Regions from separate parts of the Homo sapiens genome. Here regions 1 and 3 are each linked to region 2. Evidence: promoter capture Hi-C in 16 types of primary human blood cells and fetal thymus (Javierre and others, 2016). All regions are on one chromosome and are shown on one strand. Each heading gives the region's core, a stretch centred on a gene start or on the middle of the fragment in contact. The rest is flanking DNA. Distances are from core to core; before and after follow the strand shown.

Region 1 (2,700 bases), core at 144-2,643, 1.2 Mb before region 2:
ACCAAGTCCTCTTAACTGAAAGGACTCCTGGCCTACCATCAAAATGCTCATGTGTTAGGCTTTATATCTGGATTAAAGTCAAGTCAGCAAGAACTGGTCTCAGAGGAATTCATTCCTCCAGAGCAGAGGCAATGTGTGAGATTTAAGAACTCAGGCCTTAGCATCTGGCAGATCTTTAAATTTGAATCTTAGCTCGCTACTTGACATAGAGCAAGAAACATGAGTCTCAAATATAAATCAGGGAACAGCAGGACCAGAGCTGATGCACAGGAAGCACCTCGCATTGTAGAAGGCACTCAATAGCTGCTTGGTATAGAGTAAATACATGCTTGGTTTTCAGTAAATAAATACTTGATATTGAAACGATTATTTCAGTCATTGATCCATGCACAAGAAAATTGTGCATCATAAACATTTTACTCTTGAGCAAACATCAATTATTAAAAACATATGTTCAAATTCATTATCCATTCTATTTAATTAAATGCTTGAGGCGCTTGGGGAGCTTACATTTGTGATTTAAGTCTGTGCGTTTTTCAAATGTATCTTTCGGAAGAGATTAAGACACTGCAATTTTAAGCAGGGCAGGTGGCTCACGCCTGTAATCCCAGCACTTTGGGAGGCTGAGGTGGGCAGATCCCTTGAGGCCAGGAGTTCAAGACCAGCCTGGGCAACAAAGCGAGACACTGTCACCATAAAAAATATTTTTTTAAATTAAAAAGAGTGCAATTTGAACACATGTCAATATACGATTACCTTTTAATTCAAATGTGTAGCTATCTACTGTGCTGGAATCAGGTGGGCAGCAGGTGATCCCACTAGTGGCAACTTGGTGTTCTGCGATGTGGCACATCCACTTCTTAAATGCAGATTATTGCACTGTAATAAAAATCCTCCATATTCAGTGCTTTCATTGTGTATAATTATGTAAACTGTAGACAAAAAATATTCCTGAATTTGTGTGTGTGTGTGTGTGTGTGTGTGTGTGTGTGCGGATGCGCAATCCGAGATGGTTGTTAAAGCTCGAAAGCGAGTTTAGCTTCTAGAGTCGCCCCTCCTCCGAGGCCCAGCCGAGGTGGACTCGCACCGTCGCAAGACCGGCCAGGCGGTGGCAATGAATAAAAAGCCAGTCTTGGTGCTAGGGACCCAGGTGTTCTCCGTCCCGCCCCTGCCTGGCAGCCCCGCCCCTCCCCCGCCCCGGGCCACGCCCCACCCTGGCCCAGCCCCCAAAAGTACCGTTTGCATCTCCCGTGAGCCTCTTCGACTGTCACTCTTTGGAAAAAAAAGTGACGTCTGCACTGAGGTGGCCGCTAAAGTGCGAATCACGACGGGCGGTGGCCGTTGGGTCCCGGCGGGAGGCGGGGTTTCCGCTCCCTGGGGCGCACGTCAGTCAGGAGGCGGAAGCGCAGCGGGGGCGGGAAGGTTGTAGTGCCGCGAGTTGAGCTCCTCTTGCCTAAGTGGTCGCGCCCCCTTTAAGAGCAGCGATTGTAAGGAGAGGCGGTCCCGGTGTCCTCGGGTCCCAGGTAAGTACGACAGTCTGGAGGCACCGGGCAATAGAAAAGTGTGGCTCCGGTGCTAACCTGTCGCCGCCGTCTTTGTTGCTACAGGCAGCGACCTCCCTTCCGACCTTGCCACCTAACATTTCTGGCTCCTACTTGCTTCCTTCGTCTCGTTCACAGCCCGGGCCCAGCCGGCTCTGCACATCCGTAGGCAGGGACCTTTCTGGCACGCCAGTCTACCCTGTCACAAGATGGCCCTGTTGTCCTCCAGTCCTAACCCCGCATTGCTCGCTCTGTGTTTCAGCCGCTGGAGACACCTAACGATTCATTTACTAAAAACCGGTGTCTGTTTTCTATCCCTTGTGTCTTTCCCGGGCTCCCTAGACTAAGGCATCACTCTTTGCTGCCAATGAAATCAATTCTTTGCCTCCGGCACTGTGCCCACCTTTTAAAGAGCGGGTTTGTTAAGCTTTTTTTTTTTTTAATTAATAGTATGGTTGCTTGAATAAGACTTTATTTTCCCTTCTGAAAGCAGGATTAGGGTCTTGCTCATCTTGGATCTCCCCAGGATTTAGTACGAAAGCACGAAGTTTGGAAACCAGCAGCCCAAATAATTCCTACTAGCTCTATGACCCTGGGTACGGTTTCCTCATCTATAAAATGGTGATAAATAAATAAAGGAACTAATTTCGAGCATGTTACACAGTGTATGGTGCAGAGCAGATACAGTACTCCTTTACCTTTTTTAGCTTTCAGTGTACACAGTAGTTTTTGGGTATGTGTTTTAGACGAATGCAGAGACACCATAGATGAATGATTTTTCTTCCTAGCACCATGATTATATTGACTCTATCAATTGGTTGATATATTTGGTAAATACAACCTAATGACGTTTATTAAAGACAGTAATGCTAAATGGTATGAACATCTGCAAGAATAAACAATGCCGTATTTAATTAAATGCTTGAGGCACTAGCAGAGTTTACATTTGTTTCAGTCTGTGTACATTTCAAATGTATCTTTCTTTCTTTTCTTTTTTTTTTTTTTTGAGACCGAGTCTCGCTGTCTCGCTCTGTGGCCCAAACTGGAGTGCAGTGGCGCGATCTCGGCTCACTGCAACCTCCGCCACCCGGGTTCAAGTGATTCTCCCGTCTCGCCCTCCCGAGTAGCTGGGACTGCAGGCGCTTGCCACCACACCCGG
Region 2 (2,700 bases), core at 106-2,605:
CTCTCCATTCTATCCTTCTGAAACTGCCTAAGTACAGGGTTCTTCACTCCAGTCTCACACTGTGGCCAAAAAATTCCTTCTAACATGCAAAATATGATCTTATCACTCCCCGGCTTACAGTCCCTCACCAGCCACCGAACTGTCTCTCGATAAAGTTCACATGCAGGGACCATGGCATTGTGATCTAGAGACACTGTCTGATGACCTCACCTCTTGAGCTCTAGCTACCCGATTGACACTACAGCCATAAATTAGTATCTCCTCTCTCTCTACATACTCTCCTAGCCTTTGCACCAAGGCTATTCCCTCTCCTCGGAATGTTGCTTTCTTTCTCCTACCAAACTTTTATTCGTCTTTAAAGCCTGACTCCTTTCAACTGTCACTTCTGGTGTGATGCTCTGCTTGATCCCAAAGCACTCCTTTGCACACAGACTGCCCTGTGTTGCATTCATTCATTCATTCTATAAGTGACGGAGCAACTACAATGAGCTGGAACGAGACCAGGGGCCATGAGCTGCGGGGCCAGGCGTGGACAGGCCTGAAAGGGTCCTCACGCTCACAGAGGGTCCAGGAAATGACAATACAGCCGGAGCGGGACTACAATGCGACAAGTGAAGGATGTGACAGCCTCGCATTGCAACTACCATACCAATAACAACCCACTTCCGAGTACAGCGCCCGGCACACAGCAGCATGACGTCATTTATTCCTCTGCCAAATATTAGGCGCCCACCACGTACCTGGCGCCGTGCTGAGCACCTGGGGCTCCGCGATGACTAAGACACTCGGCTCCGTCTACAGGGAGTTTACATAGGAGGCCCGGTGAAAATGTGACGCAGCCAGAGGATCTCAACCAGAGGGAAGAAAAAAGGAGAGATTTCACCCCCCAGCGGTCCTCTGGCAATGTCTGGACACATTTTTGGTTAGCTCGACTAGGACGAGAGGTGGTACTGTTATCTAACGGGCAGAACCAGTGACGCTGTTAAACATCCTGCCACAACGGGAGAGCCTCCCCCTCACCGCCACACCACAAACAAAACAAGGCATTATCCCGCCCAAAATGTCAACAGTGCCCAAGTGGCGCAGGGAGGGATGGAGGGAAGCCAACAGCCCCATCCCGCAGCGGAGTGCGCACCTCCCACAGAAGCAGCAGCAGCGCAGCGCACAGCCCGTTGGTAGGCTGCTCCCGGCCCCCATCCCGCCCCAAGTGCGCCCTCGGAGCCGGCGACCCGGCCACGGCCCCGAAACTCGGGGCCCGGGACGACCAGTACCTGCATCAGCATCCGCAAACAGCACCAACGCCACCGCAAAGAGCTTCCAGAAGCTTGTCCCGCAGCGAGTGCGCGCGCAAGCCTGCGGGAACCACTGCGCCTGCGCAGAGGCGCTGAACCGGACTCCCCGAACGCGCTCGTGCAGCTTTCCGAAAGTCCGCGCTTTCCATAGGCTCCCACCTGCCTGTTGCGCATGGTCACTGGGAAGCGGCTAGTGGGCTCGGCTGCAGAATTATTGCTGCGCCAGAGGCTCAGAGGCCTAGAATCGTATGAGGTTTGCAGATCCAGGAGGCTCCATCTGTTTAGTAACCTCAGACCTTCCCTACCCGCTCCCATCACTTCCATTCCCTGAAATCTAAGGTGGAAAAATCCACCGCAGAAGCATATTACCGATGCATTTAATGCAAGCCATAATTAATGCCACAACTTGAGTTAAACACATATTAATCTTATGACTTCCACACCTGCCCCCATGGTCCAGTCCACCCTCATGGCTCACCTGGATTATTGCAATAGCTTCTTGATTATACCTTACTTCTCTTGGCTATTCTCCACAGCCAGACGGACGTTTTAAAAACGTCAAATTATGACCCTCCTTTGCTTAAAACCCTGCAATGGTTTCCCATTTCACTCAGAGTTAAAACCCAAGTCTTTATAGTGGCCTACAAGGCCTGATGGAATCTAGCCCCTGTAACCTCCCGCACCTCTTCCCCACTTTCCTGCTCCAATCTTGATAGACCCCTTCCTCTTCTTGTAACCTGCCAGGTACTTCCGGCTGACCTGCTCCTTCCCTAAGTGGCCATACGGCCCGCTCTCTCATCCCTTCAGGTCTTCTCAATGAAGCTCTCCCACCATTCCACTTAAATAGGAATCCCACCTTACTCTTGTTTCCTCTTCTAACATGCCCTATAGGTTTGTTAATTTTTTTTTTTACTACTTGTCCGCCTTCTCCAGTAGAATACTAATTTCAGAAGAGTAAGTATTTTTATTTCATTTGTTCTAGGTTGTGTGTTTAGGTCCTGGAACAGGACTTGGCCCATGGCAGGCACTCAATAGATATTTGTTGAGCTTATGAATGAGTATTTGCATGGATTATTGGGGGCATTGCAAAAAGGGCCAAAGAACTCCAGAAAAATTGTTTGGAGGGTTCTAATAACTGGATGATCCCTGAAGGGGTGGAGTTAGGAGAGAAAGACTAGATTCATTCTAGACTGAAGGAGCAAGGTGATTCAAGGCCCTGAGACTTCAAAAGGGCAGAGCAAGCTCAACTAAATGAACCACTCCTCTCAAAAGGAGTGGGCTTATCACAGGCAGCAAGTCAAGCTGAAGAGACAGGGCTGAGAATGGCCGGGCGCGGTGGCTCATGCTTGTAATCCCAGCACTTTGGGAGGCTGAGGCGGGTGGATCACCTGAGGTCGGGAGTTTGAGA
Region 3 (2,700 bases), core at 117-2,616, 1.2 Mb before region 2:
TTAGGTCCCCTGCTCCCATTAATATTGGGACAAGGGGGAATTCATTTAGTATTTTACTAGGGAGAGAAAATCTTGATCACAAGACCTGAGAACAATTCTAATTTCTGCAGTTAGTGACTAAGTGACGGCAGGAGCGGGGATACAATCACTGCTCAAGTCTCCTTCACAGCTGAAATGGCCATGGGGGTAGGGAGGAGGTCGTCCCTTACCCCTGCCTGGACTCTGCTGTCTCTCCAAGCAGCAGGAGGGTTGTGCTGCTCTAAGAAAATCTGGAGCCTCCCTCCGTACAAAGAAGGTCAAAGGGCGAGCTTTCTTTCCATCAACCACAAAACCAGCCTCTGCCAAACCTAAACAGAGTGGTAGGCCGTCGGAGGTGAATGGAGCCCCAGACAGAAAACCACAACGAGGCTCTCCTCCCGCCGCCGGCTGGGGTCTGAGTCAGGTGACTCCTCAGGACAAACAGCAAACCTAAACAAAGATCACTCCCCACATGACTGACTAGGGGGAAGAAGACTCTCGCTGTAAGCCCAGGGCTGCCCGGTCCCAGCACGGAAAGCCAGGAACTCCTGCTTTCTGTGCAGTCTCGGAAACTGGAGGAGCTACAAGTTATGCAGCAGCTCAGCCTGCAGGGATGCACCTGGAGGAACTCGGAACCCCATCCGAGGACACAGGCGCCCTGCCCTGAACACACGCCTCCCGCTCCAACACGCAGGCTGGACCCCTCCCCACCAGCTGTCACCGGTGCTTGCGACCAGTCACAGGCAGCGAAGCCTGTCCCTCTGCGGCTGCGACCCCGCGGAGGCGGCAGAGGAGACGCTTCGCCGAGGGCTCCGGGGCCAGGACACGCCCGTCCCCCGGGAAGGGGCGGCAGGGTGGGCGCGGCCCCAGGCCCACGAAGGCTCCGGATCCATCATCCCCCCCACGGGGAGCGAAATAAGCCTCCCACTCCCCGGCCCCAGGCGCCCCACCTTGTCACCGAAGCTGCGGGCCATCAGCAGGTCCGGGCTGGGCGTGCTGTCACCACCCACGGCCTCCTCGCTGCTGGAGCCGGCCAGCGGGTGCGGCATGTCGCGCAGGGAGTGGGGCCCCGTGGACGGCAGGGCCTTGGGGGGCCCGCCCGCCATGGCGCGCACCGCTCGGGACGCGCCGCCGCCGCTTCCTCCTGCTGCCCGCCGCGGCGAGCTCCCCGAGCACCCCGGGCCGAGCCCCGCTCGGCCGCCGCTTAACCCGAGGCCTTGCACCGGCCGTGCTGGGGGCCGCCGCCACCCGCCGGCTGGTCTCTGCCGGCGCTCAGACGCTCCGCTCCGCGCCGCGCGCCCCCGCTCCGCGCCCGAGCCCGCCGCGGGTCCGCTGGCAGCACGGCCGCGGCGCCCAGCCCACACAGCCACACCGCCCACCCGCTCCGGCCCCGCCCCCGAGGCGCCGCGGCCGCCCGGGAGGGGGCGGGGAGGGCGGGGAAGGGGCACGTGGGGAAGGAAGGACGGAGGGAGGGAGGGAGGAGGCGCGGCCCCGCCCCCGCCCGGCAGGAAGTGCGCCCTGGGCCTCTGCGGCTGTCCTCCCAGTGTCCAACGTTGCCTCGCGGAGGCCGCCGTGCGGAGCAAATGTCTAACGGAAATCAGAGGTGGAAAAGAGGTTGGAGGAGCCTGTTCCGTTCCACCCGCGTTTACTGATGCGCCCACCAGCAGCCACGCTTGGGGCTGGGGGCTTTGAGGACACGCACGTGAGTCAGGGTCTTCTGGCCTCTAAGGCACGCGCAGGAAGAACCCTAGATAGACGGAATTACGACCCATATCGGAAGAATAGCATAAAGGGCGACAAGGCTCAAATGAGCTAGAGGACATCGGGTGGGGAACCTGGAAGGGACTTCAAAGAGGCGGTGTGGGGAGTCTTCAGGCTCACTCTGAGGTCCCCATTGTGGCTTGCTTCTGCAGCTGAGCTGGATTTGTGTAAAGTCAAACCTCAGAACAGCGAGCATGAGTAGAGAGTCTCAAATGATATGCGACTCTTCAACTCACACTTTGGCCGAAGAGACTTTTGAAAGAACCATGAGGTTCAAGTTATTCTTCATGCATTTGTGCTTCCTTTCCAGGCCTTGGGCTGAGCTGATTCTCAGCTTTATTTGCTGGCGTGGTGCAAATAGTCAAGGTGTTACTTCCAGCCCTTTGGGGTGTAGGTTCACCTCCTTTTTCCACCTTACCTGTCCCTAGATCTTCTGTTTCCAAGGCCAAGTCTTTAAAGGGTTTTCAGTCCCTCTAGCAAAGTAATGGGTAGGGAGGCTCATCGTGAGGGACCACATTTTCCCTACCCATTCCAAACTCAAAGGTTTGCCTAGCCTTACCTGCTAAAAGGTGATGACAGATGTTGACTCTGGGATTCACTAAGGCCTCTACCACAGTTTTCTCTAGAAACAAATAGAAGAGAATGCAGAGGGTTGAAATCTACCCAAAATATCAGTCAGAGACTCTGAGCTTCAAAGACCTTCCCCTATTTCCCCCAATGTAATTTATATAGGGTTGGACCCTTAGTCCTCAAGCTATCATCTTTATCTCCTCCACATAAGCCTGCCTTGGCTGGGAAAAGTAGCATTCAAAGGGCACTGGGAACAATTTTAAATGCTGCATCTAAGGAATGCCAAGTTCTGGTCCTCTTGGAGTTGGATTAAAATTGTTAACACTTTCACATTCAAGGGCTGCTTACAAC

What was found. The method cuts DNA at HindIII sites, captures the fragments that hold promoters and counts their contacts. A CHiCAGO score of 5 or more calls a contact.
Region 1: the fragment with the promoter of INIP here is called in contact with the fragment with the promoter of ZNF483 in region 2 in 5 of 17 cell types (naive CD8 T cells, naive CD4 T cells, total CD4 T cells and 2 more); the score reaches 18.6 in naive CD8 T cells.
Region 3: the fragment with the promoter of SNX30 here is called in contact with the fragment with the promoter of ZNF483 in region 2 in 6 of 17 cell types (activated CD4 T cells, naive CD8 T cells, non-activated CD4 T cells and 3 more); the score reaches 8.9 in activated CD4 T cells.

The regions. Positions count from the first base shown.
Region 1 is chr9:112,716,810-112,719,509 of GRCh38, reverse strand. INIP (INTS3 and NABP interacting protein) reads left to right here and starts at 1,393. Exons shown (of 5, transcript NM_021218.3): 1 at 1,393-1,523. RefSeq lists a silencer at 1,182-1,341 and an enhancer at 1,712-1,811. The HindIII fragment of the contact is 2,113 bases long and covers 1-1,970 here.
Region 2 is chr9:111,523,834-111,526,533 of GRCh38, reverse strand. ZNF483 (zinc finger protein 483) reads right to left here and starts at 1,355. Exons shown (of 6, transcript NM_133464.5): 1 at 1,272-1,355. RefSeq lists enhancers at 192-691, 803-1,002 and a silencer at 1,103-1,452. The HindIII fragment of the contact is 1,786 bases long and covers 1,327-2,700 here.
Region 3 is chr9:112,749,426-112,752,125 of GRCh38, reverse strand. SNX30 (sorting nexin family member 30) reads right to left here and starts at 1,366. Exons shown (of 9, transcript NM_001012994.2): 1 at 969-1,366. The coding sequence starts at 1,124. SNX30-DT (SNX30 divergent transcript) reads left to right here and starts at 1,561. Exons shown (of 1, transcript NR_186503.1): 1 at 1,561-2,700. RefSeq lists enhancers at 1-597, 598-1,519 and a silencer at 789-1,608. The HindIII fragment of the contact is 6,629 bases long and covers 1-2,700 here.